2 separate regions of the Homo sapiens genome follow, and region 2 is linked to region 1. The links are contacts of gene promoters, found by promoter capture Hi-C in human tissues and cell types (Jung and others, 2019). All regions are on one chromosome and are shown on one strand. Each heading gives the region's core, a stretch centred on a gene start or on the middle of the fragment in contact. The rest is flanking DNA. Distances are from core to core; before and after follow the strand shown.

The links. Contacts are between HindIII fragments. The study calls those that stand out against the background at their distance.
Region 2: a contact is called between a fragment that was not itself captured here and the fragment with the promoter of GPR151 in region 1, in 2 of the 25 tissues and cell types used here (H1 embryonic stem cells and hippocampus).

The regions. Positions count from the first base shown.
Region 1 is chr5:146,513,817-146,518,783 of GRCh38, forward strand. GPR151 (G protein-coupled receptor 151) reads right to left here and starts at 2,374. Exons shown (of 1, transcript NM_194251.3): 1 at 1-2,374. The coding sequence starts at 2,297. The coding sequence ends at 1,038. The HindIII fragment of the contact is 7,544 bases long and covers 1-4,967 here.
Region 2 is chr5:147,015,715-147,020,681 of GRCh38, forward strand. It overlaps a transcript of PPP2R2B not described here. Among named protein-coding and RNA genes, the nearest start is that of PPP2R2B-IT1, 99 kb to the left of the region's middle. The HindIII fragment of the contact is 7,167 bases long and covers 1-4,967 here.

The DNA of each region.
Region 1 (4,967 bases), core at 1,124-3,623:
ATTATTTTTATAACTTAGCCTATAGTATTTTAAAAGTTGAGTAGGGTTCAAGTTCAATGTTCTGAGTAAGGGTAAGTTTAGTACCATTAACAAGAAAGATCACCATCTCCATCTTCTATTTGTATTTGAGGAGTAATCTATACCTATATCATTAACCATGGTTTATCTTGGGAGAAAGGAGATATTAGGAGGAACACATTTCTGCTTATAGAAAAATAACTTTCCCACATTTTGGAAGTGAAGAGAGGACATTTTTTTAAGTATTTTTTCCCCCATATCAGACTACTGAATGTCATTGGAAAGCTGCTACAATTCTTAGACTTAGAAACTGAAGACTCATTCAGGTAGCTTTAAAAAGTTCACTGAAGCAGGCTTTAGTTTAAGTTTGAATTTATTTAAACTTGGCCAGAACCAGCCATGGCTTGAAATGAGTCCAGAATTGGAATAAGGTGCTGTTTCTTTTTCTTTGACCTTCAGTCATGAACATTATGATACGGACTTTTCATCAAGTAAATTAACACTTATTAAGTAAATGAAGAACGCATTAAAATTTATCATTAATGTGTTAAAAATCTCAAGTGAAAGTAGATTTTGAGCTTTGGTTATGTGAAATACAATTTAGTAGGTAAAATTAGGACTAGCAGGTCCTGGGTGAAACTGAAGGTAAAGGGGCTCAGCTTTGACAGAACCTCTACTGCAGGCTCCAGCCGGTCCACTACAGGGCTGGTCCTAGGGGGTACCCAGTAAAACCACTGTGAACAAATGACAGAATAGCCAGGCTGTCTAATCACTTTGACAGCAACATCTTTACACAACACTTAAATTGTTTGGGAAGCCAAGTTCTAATTCTGAAACAATTATTACTTCTAACATGGTTCTCTACTTACCACATTGCACATTTGGAAAGTGTAGATTGTGAAATATTTTTATAATTCCTAATGGTAATAATTATATCAGTTTGTAAAGTCAGCAATATTGATAAGCAGCAGTACAAGTAAATACAATAATCACAGTTTGTTTTGCTTTGAAACTTAAATCTATTTAACACCTTCCCCTGTCTCTTGATCTTCATGTTCCCAGGGGATAGGGTCATTGTCCTGTACAGAAGGGACTGTGTCCCTCTCATGCCAAAACTGCTCTACGTCAGGAAGGATGGGAATCTCTGCCTTCTCAGTTTTCCCTTTGCCAGAGGAGGGAGAGCTGGGTTTCTCTTTTTCTGGTATGGATGCTGGGGATTCTGGAGATGGAACCTTGTCAGGAAGACCCTCTGAGTTGCCAGCTGGTGTTTCCTGAGACTCTGAGACAGTTGGAGGTTTTTTGGTTATCATCCATTTCCATACACCTTTCAAGCCTTCCCTGAACTCTTCCGACATCACAAGAAAAATGAGAGGATTTGCTGAAGAGATGGAAAACATCAAGACTTGAGACAGGGCTATGAAACCTTGTGGTGGGGCCGGGCCTGCAGCCTTCAGATGCCATACCCACAGCCAAGCTACCCATTCGGGGAGCCACAAGAGAGCAGAGATGATGGCAATGCTCAGCAGCATCACTGTGACTTGCTTTGAGCGTATCTGGTTTCTAAGATTTTGAGTCTTAGTTCCTCGTTTTTTACATTGGTCATAAGCTCTCCAGAAATAAAAGCTGGCAAAAAATAATGGAAGGCCAAATGCCAGGAGTGGGTAGAGCTTACCAAACATCGACATAAACTCTTCAGCCACAGCTGGTACATCCACGAGGCACATTTCCACACCTTCATGATGCCTGATGGTGCTAAAGAACCATTCCGGCAGGGGTAACAGGCTAGCCACAGTCCAGATGGCCACCAGCACTGACCAGATGGTGTAGTTGTGGATACTCACTTGCTTGGCTGGGTCACTTGCATACATGAAGCATACTTTGGCCACCACAACGATTGTCAGGCTCTTGGCTGCCATGCATGTGTGGATAAACCAGTCAGAGGACTTGCAGACAAACCAGCCTAGATCCCAAACACTTTTGGAGTACGCCGTAGCTCGGATAGGTGCAGAAAACAGCAGGAGGGAGAGATCAGCCAGGCTGAGATTCAGAATCAGGGAGTGGATCATGGATGGCTTTCCTTTCCAAGCATTGTGAAGGAGGATGCCAATCACACACAGGTTTCCCACGAAGCCCACCAGGCAGACAGCCACCAAGAGAGCCGGGATGATGGTTCTCCAGTCCTGGGAATCAGAGGGCAGGTACCCTCCGGCAAAGTGGAGGTGAGCAAAGGACACATTCATGCTGCTGGAGTTAGAGTCTGCAAAGGCAGCTGCCAGCATCACTCTTCACAGCTTCTTACAGAAGTTAGATTCTTATTTAGGTTTGTCTTTCTGCCTGGGCTCTTTTGCATAGGAAATAAGTACTCTGTCGTCAGTGTCAAATGACACTTCTGGATCCTCCCCTTGCTTATTTCCTGAGAGCAGAATGTGGAAGGAGGCTGGCTGTTAAGCTCTTCTCTGCTGCATACAATATACTTGTGACTGTACCGACTGTCAGATAGCAGGAGCACATGGCTGCTGCTCATTAGCAAGTCTAATACCAAATCGTCAGCCCTGTGGAGTAATACAAATATACCCATAAATGATGAATGAAGAGAACATACATGTAAGTGGCATGTGTTCCTTGGGGGGTCACTAGAGCCAGTCAAGGCAATTATTTTCAACCAGCTCTTCCTAAAATCTTGACTGCTGTCTGTAATTTAGTGAACACTACATCTGAACCAAGTTCTTTGAACTTCACCTGATGGCCGGATCCAGTGGGTCTGGAGTAGGGCCCAAGAAATCATTTCTAACAAGTTCCCATGAGACTCTGATGCTGCAGGTTGGGAGACCACACTTTGAGAACCACTGTTTTAAACTGAGAACTAAAGCTTCCCCTACCCACTCTGCAGAGATGAGCTTCCTCTTCTTTTCCCCAACCCTTACAACCACCTCAGTTCCATCAACAGCTGGCTGAGTTCAAACACAGCTGGATAATGAAAACAAGTTAGAAGTCCTATTAAAAAAATCTAATTATGGATGACTCTCAGTTTATTCTATTACGAGTTTTTAGAAGCAATTTTACAGCTCCAAATTAGAACTGCTTTACATACTAATAAGACTTTTCAACAAGTGATGGTGATGAAGGCAACTGCATGATGAATTAAGCTGCTTTTCAGAGAGCATTCCTAGAGGATTTACCAAGACAAGAGAAATGAAAGAAAAATCAATATCTATGTGGAAGGCATTTAAGAGATTTTTTTAAATTATATTTTAAAGTTGGTAAAGATTTTGTGCTGGGCACACTGGCTCATGCCTGTAATCCCAGAATTTGGGGAGGTGGAGGCGGGAGGATTGCTTAAGGCCAGAAGTTCGAGACCAGCCTGGGCAACAAAGTGAGACCCCTGCCCCCACCTCTACCAAACAAACAAGAAAAAAAAAAAAAAGAAAAAAAAAAAAGTCAGCCATGATGGTGTACACCTGTAGTCCTAGCTACTTAAGAGACTGAGGTGAGAGGGTTGCTTAAGCCCAGGAGTTCGAGGTTGCAGTGAGCTATGACTGTGCTGCTGCACTCCAACCTGAGTGACAGAGTGATCCTCTGTCTCTAGAAATAAAAAAATTCTCAGATAAGATGATTTGGTAGAACTAGCCCTGAAATTTTAAAATAAGCAATGGATACTCTGGGGGGATTAGAGGAGCTCAAAATGTTCAGAGAATGGGGTTTGTGGGGTTGATATGAAGATACATGCTACATTGAGTGTGGCTAGTCAGAAAAGCTAAAGCATGATATACAGGAGAGTATGCTGCTGCATTCAGATCTCTGGATTCTGGTACTGTGCTTTCACGTTTTTCGCAAGTAAAGAAGGGTCTGACGTTTTAAAATTCTTCAGTGTCCTAGAAAATAAATAAGTAGTGATCAGTATAGCTATTGGGACAGTGGTCAGTGGTGCTGGGTTCCTTTGTTTCCATTTCTATTTCCTTTTGCTTTCCTTCCTTTTACCTCTGGGAAGTAGTTGTTCCTATAGAACAGTAAATTGGGGCAACACCTTATTCCAGCAAGGCACAGTAACTCCCAGTAACTACTTAAGGATGAAATATCCTTGAGTCTCAACAAGCATCACTTTTGGGTGTGAAGAGGCCCGCAACGTCTTACAGGGAAGAAAATGGGGGAGGGAGCAGAGTGATGTTTTGCAGATTGTAGACTACAAGGAAGGTAGTTCACTTGATGTATGTGGAAGAGATTCATTCAGAACCAAGAAACAAATATACTGCTTCACACTGTGGCTTATATATTCAAGATTATGATATTCAAGCCTCCTGAAGCTGTATAAGATAAAAAGCTAAATGGGTTCAAGCCACCTTTAATACCATGGAAATTTGATTCTTAATAGACAATTGAGGGAAACTAAAGACTGTCATGTGGTACTTCCCAAGTCTATTGGTACTGACTCAGGGAAGCATCTCCTGGTGCTCCAGCTAGAGATAAAGTCTTTGGACTGAAGGATAATGAACTTTCTCCGCTCTTTTGGGGGAAATTTATTTTAACTTTTTATTTAAAAATAATTGCTTCTGGGCACGGTAGCTCACACCTGTAATCCCAGCACTTTGGGAGGCCAAGGCAGGTGGATCACCCGAGGTCAGGAGTTCAAGACAAGCCTGGCCAACATAGTGAAACCCCGTCGCTACTAAAAAATACAAAAATTAGCCAGGTGTGGTGGCACATGCCTGTAGTCTCAGCTACTCGGGAGGCTGAGGCGGGAGAATTGCTTGAATCTGGGAGGCTGAGGTTGCAGTGAGCCGAGATGGTCCCACTGCATTCCAGCCTGGGTGACAAAGAGAGACTCTGTCTTAAAAAATAAAAAAATAAAAATAATTGCAAATGTATAGAGAAAAAATGCAAGAAGAGCACAAAGAATTGCCCTATATACTTCATCTGAGTTCACCGATTAATTATTTATTGAGACACAGTCT
Region 2 (4,967 bases), core at 818-3,317, 500 kb after region 1:
GTAAAATAAGAATGCTAATATAGTTAATATATTCTTAATATAATATAATATAAAATAATGTAATATACATTCTTAATATAAGAATGCTAATAGTTTACTTGCAGTATGATTATGAGATTATTTGAGATAATGGAAATCCCTTATTTTCTCAATAAATGATATCTATTTTCAGTATCATCACCATCATCTCTTCCTTGAAATACGAGTATATTATTTCCTGTTACATTGTAAGTTTCTTAAAAACATAATAAATGTCTTAATTTGTCTCTACACACACATAGATACTCAGTAAATATGTGTTAAGAGAATTTGAGAACCAAGACCATCACTTTGTCCCCTAAGTTAAAACAAAAATACTTGCTAAAAAGTTGGCCCAGCACAGAGGCCAAGGCAGGTACATTGCTTGGTCCCAGGAGTTCGAGACCAGCCTGGGAAACATGGCAAGATCCATCTCTACAAAATTTTTTTAGAAGTTAGCTGGGTGGGCATGATGGTATGCATCTGTAGTCCTAGCTACTCAGGAGGTAGGAGAATTGTGTGAACCCAGGACTTCGCGGTTATAGTAAGCTATGACTGCACCACTGCACTCCTGCCTAGGTGACACAGTAAGACTCTGTCTCAAAAAAAAAAAGATGATAGCAGTTTTGGGGGGGACAATCATCTTCTAACAAGTAACTCTATTCCTTTATGACTTTGTTTTACTTCTAAGACGTTGTTAGCATAGAATTTGAAGCTTACTAACATTAGGTTTTCTTATTTTATTTCCTTGTATATAAAAAGGACTTGTAGTTAAAAAATATCCACCTAAGCTTTTCTAAAATAAGTCTGAGAAAACATAGGGGACACAGTCACATATACAGATACATTGTGGAATCAATATATGTAGTGAGGAAAATAGAAGCAAGTCTAGGGTGCTATGGGAACACAAAGGCAGTATATTCAATCCTTCTGTGTTGGGAAAATATTTTCTAGAGAAGATGGCAGCTGAGCTAAACTACTAGAGATGAGTGAAAACTAGTCAAAAGAAGGCAAGAGAATGGGCATTCTATCCAGGCAGAAAACATGTCATAATAAAAGGCAAGAAGACTTGAAATCCAAAATAGCATGATATATGCTGGATTTCATAAGCATTTAGGCATGATCACAGCTTCTATTCCAGAGCAAGGAGTAGGAAAATGCAAAGTTGGAGAGAAAGTTGTTGGCCAAGTTACAGAATATCCTACATGTCATGCTCTAGAGCTCCATTTTGCAGGTAAAGGAGAAACATGAAGTATTTTAAATGGGAAAGAACATGGTCAGATTTAAGTTTTGGATAGATTGCTCTGGCTGCAGGGTGGAGGCTAGATCTGAGGAATACAAGAATAAAGGCAAACAAACAAAAATGCACATCAGGGCTATTGAAAAACTCCAAGCTAAAGAAATGGAATGCCCAAGCCAGAGAAGTAGGATAATACAAGAGGCGATGGAGTCAAAAACTGTGGGCAATAGAATCAGCAGGATTTGGTGATTGCTTTATGAATGGGTTTGGAGGGAGGAACCTGGGTTTCTATTTGGATGATTGTGCAGACAGTGATGCTAATCATAGGACATCTTTGAAGAGAAAGAGCAGAACACAGGCTGGGCATGTGGGAGGGAGATGACAGTTCAGTTTCAGTCACACTGGAACGTCTGTGCTTAGCATCTTAACCTTAGGGGAGGGAGAGATTCGAGCTGGAGATAACATTTGTTATCATTAGAAAACAGAGTGGTTCAAACCATGGGAGTGTGTAAACTAACTCAAGGATGAAGTTTACGTAGAGAACAGAATTCTGGTGAACACAGCATTTAAAGCAGAGGAGGAGGAGCCTACAGAGGAAGCATATTAGGAATGCAAAGAGAAAGAGAAGAGAAAAATCAAATGAAAATAAATTTGTTGAAGCTAAGAGGGTAGAAAATTTCAGGAAAGAGGGATTGATCAATGGTATCAAATGCAGCTGCAGTGTAAAGTAAGATACAAGCAAAAAAGTGTTTCTTAGCTTTGGCAAAAGGCATTGTAAATTAGGTTTAGAGTGAGAAGGAAAACAAGACAGGGTTAAGCCTGCCACTTGGAAAAGATGATGTCATGTAAACAAATGACAGTGAAAGAAAAGCTTCCAACATTCCTGTTGCTTGTCTATCCTAACAAAATTAAGGATCTTCAAGCTGGAAAGGTAAAGCAATGTCTTTAAGCAGCAATTAAGGCTCAAGATAAGTTAGAAGATGATAAAGACAGGACCATGTAGTTTTGCATGTAGGAAATCTTCCAGGCCCAGATGAATTATAGTCTACGACACACACATGCATGCGCGCGCACACACACACACACACACACACACACACACACACACTTAGAAGCGTTAAGCATCATAGATAGGAATGTCAAAAATGCTAAGAGGCTGGAAGCTAATAAAAAGAAAGGGGACCTCAGAAAACTTGTCAAATATATAAAGTACTATTATATGGAATAGAAAGAGTAAATTTATTTTGTATGACTTCGAAAGGCAGAACCTAAATAAAAGTGTAGAAATTGCAGAAGCACAGATTTCCACTGGAAACAACTTTCTATCATCCAGTCATGACATAGCCACCATGAAAGGCAGTATTTTCCTGTCTTGGAAGTATTCAAGATGAGGTTGATGGCCATCTGTCAGGAGGGATAGTTGGACTCGATTTGGAAGGGTCAATATCCAGTATTCATGCCTTCACCTCTCTTTAAAAGATCTCATTTTTTATATATATTTTTTAAAAACACTTTTCCTTATTGAGCTTAGAAAATCAAATATATTTGTCATCACTGGATTCTATTATTTCTAAGGTCCTTTCTGAATAGGAAATGTTATGTATCTAGATTCTAGAAAATATAGTAAATGTTGATGTAACGATGAGAAACCCAGCTTAGTTAACTAAATTATTTGGGACCTGGAGAGGACTGGAACAGAGTTGGTGTTGTGTTAGTTTCATTTGTCATGGGACCCCTTGCAGGAGAACAAGGGTTATGGACTGAATTAGGCAGTGCTCCATGCTGGCTTTGGACTACCAGCTTTTAAAACAAATATTTAGTGATGTCCTCCTGGTGCCAGACCCAACACTAGGTAAAGCTACTGTGGTAAAAACATGTAAAGACAGACATCAGGCAAACTCAGAACAGAAGATGATGGTGGTTATTATTTTAAAAAACTCCCTCTTGGCCAGTTAAAATGAATTAGAATGATCAAAAGCATTAGCACTGAGTTCTTGCTTTGTATAGTTCAGCCTACAAATCAAATACTGCTCTCTGTTTATTACTGCAAGATCATAATTCACAAAGGAATGTTCAGAGAGGTCAGTATTTATGACTACCCGAAGTGTTTCATTTGCAAAAATTATAAATGGAAAATCTGGCACTTAGTTAGAAATGTAGATCTTCTGGTACATAAATTTGCCCCATTGATTTTTATGTATTTCTTAAACTGTGCACTGTTGATTTCAATATTGTTTTGGAACAGATTGACCATAAATATTTAAATAACTGCTGTTCAACAAAGTTACTCAAAACAGTAGCTGTTTGAAGATACAACTGTGATCTGCTGAGGTCAAGAAAAGCAAATTAAAATAGAAAAGATTCAGAATAAATTGTTACTTGGAACTGTTTTATCAACCAAAACAGAAGAAAGTTAATAAGATCATCCTTGCAATTTATTAGTACCAAAAATATGTTTGGAGTGGAATGTATGTATACAATATCCACCACCAACATGAAGGTGGGAGGAAAGGAAGATTTTAGATTTCACAATGACCTGAATGAAAGGATTGAGCTACAAAACCTGGTGAAGTGAGATCTAATGCTGGCCAAATAGTTTTACTTTGTTTTTTGTTTTGTTTTGTTTTTTTTTAAAAAGTCTATCTATTACTTTGAAAGAGGATATGTTAAAAGCACAGAGTGCTTTGCATCTGGGATCTACTACCAAAAATATAGCAAGGTGGCTCTTGTCTTAACAACTAGTCTAAGAAATATTCTCCTATGTGACCTGAATACCTACTCTTTTCATTGTAGCATGTAAGAGATGTTAAAGCCATCACTTAAAGATGATTTAAAATATTTCCTAGAGAAGCCTTTCTCAGCCTCCGAGGCTAGATCTGATTCTTCTGTATGAGAGCTATGGGAATACACCGCTCAGATCTCGTTTCAAGGAAAACATGCTGTGAGGGATGACTGAGTATAGCATGGGTACTAGATCTGGCCATTCCTTATCAACAGAGGATTTCTCTAGAAGGCAGTCTTTGCTCTGGGCCTCCCTATTAACCTGGCCTAGATGTTCTCAGAGCTGCATTCAACTCTGATGCTCTTTCTACCCAATCTTTCTTCGTCCACCCTCTCCTTATAAAGATGTTAGAGTTGCATCACTTTCTATAGCTTTCCCCACTCAGATTTTCTCTCTCTTTTTTTCTCCATAGTCATTCCTTCTAATAAATCCTGTGACACATTCAATTCCCTCTTGGTATTTGATCCTGGAGAATCAAAACTGACACTCCATTAATGTACCCTCAGAGTTCCTTGTACCATTTATTTAAAGCCCACATATTTTGTAATGATATATTTATATGATTATTTAATAAATAATTTTCATCCTATCAGACCACTGACTTTCACTGGGGTAGGAAACATGTTGACTTCATCCCTAGGTCTACAAAACCACCTAGAAATTCATATGTGATTTATAAATATGTATTGAGTGAATATATGCATTAAAAAATAGTGATAGTACTATACTATCATAAAAGATTTGGGGGTTGCATTAAAGAAGATAAACAAAAAAGTGGTCACAATAGACTTTAGCAAGAGGAGGAGACCAGGAGGGGTGGAGAAAGAAAACAAAAAGTGAAAATAAATCAACAGTGCTTGAAAAGTTGCTTGACTGTATCTTTCTGCTTATAGGGTTTTGATAGAGATTGACAGAGAAGGTATATTC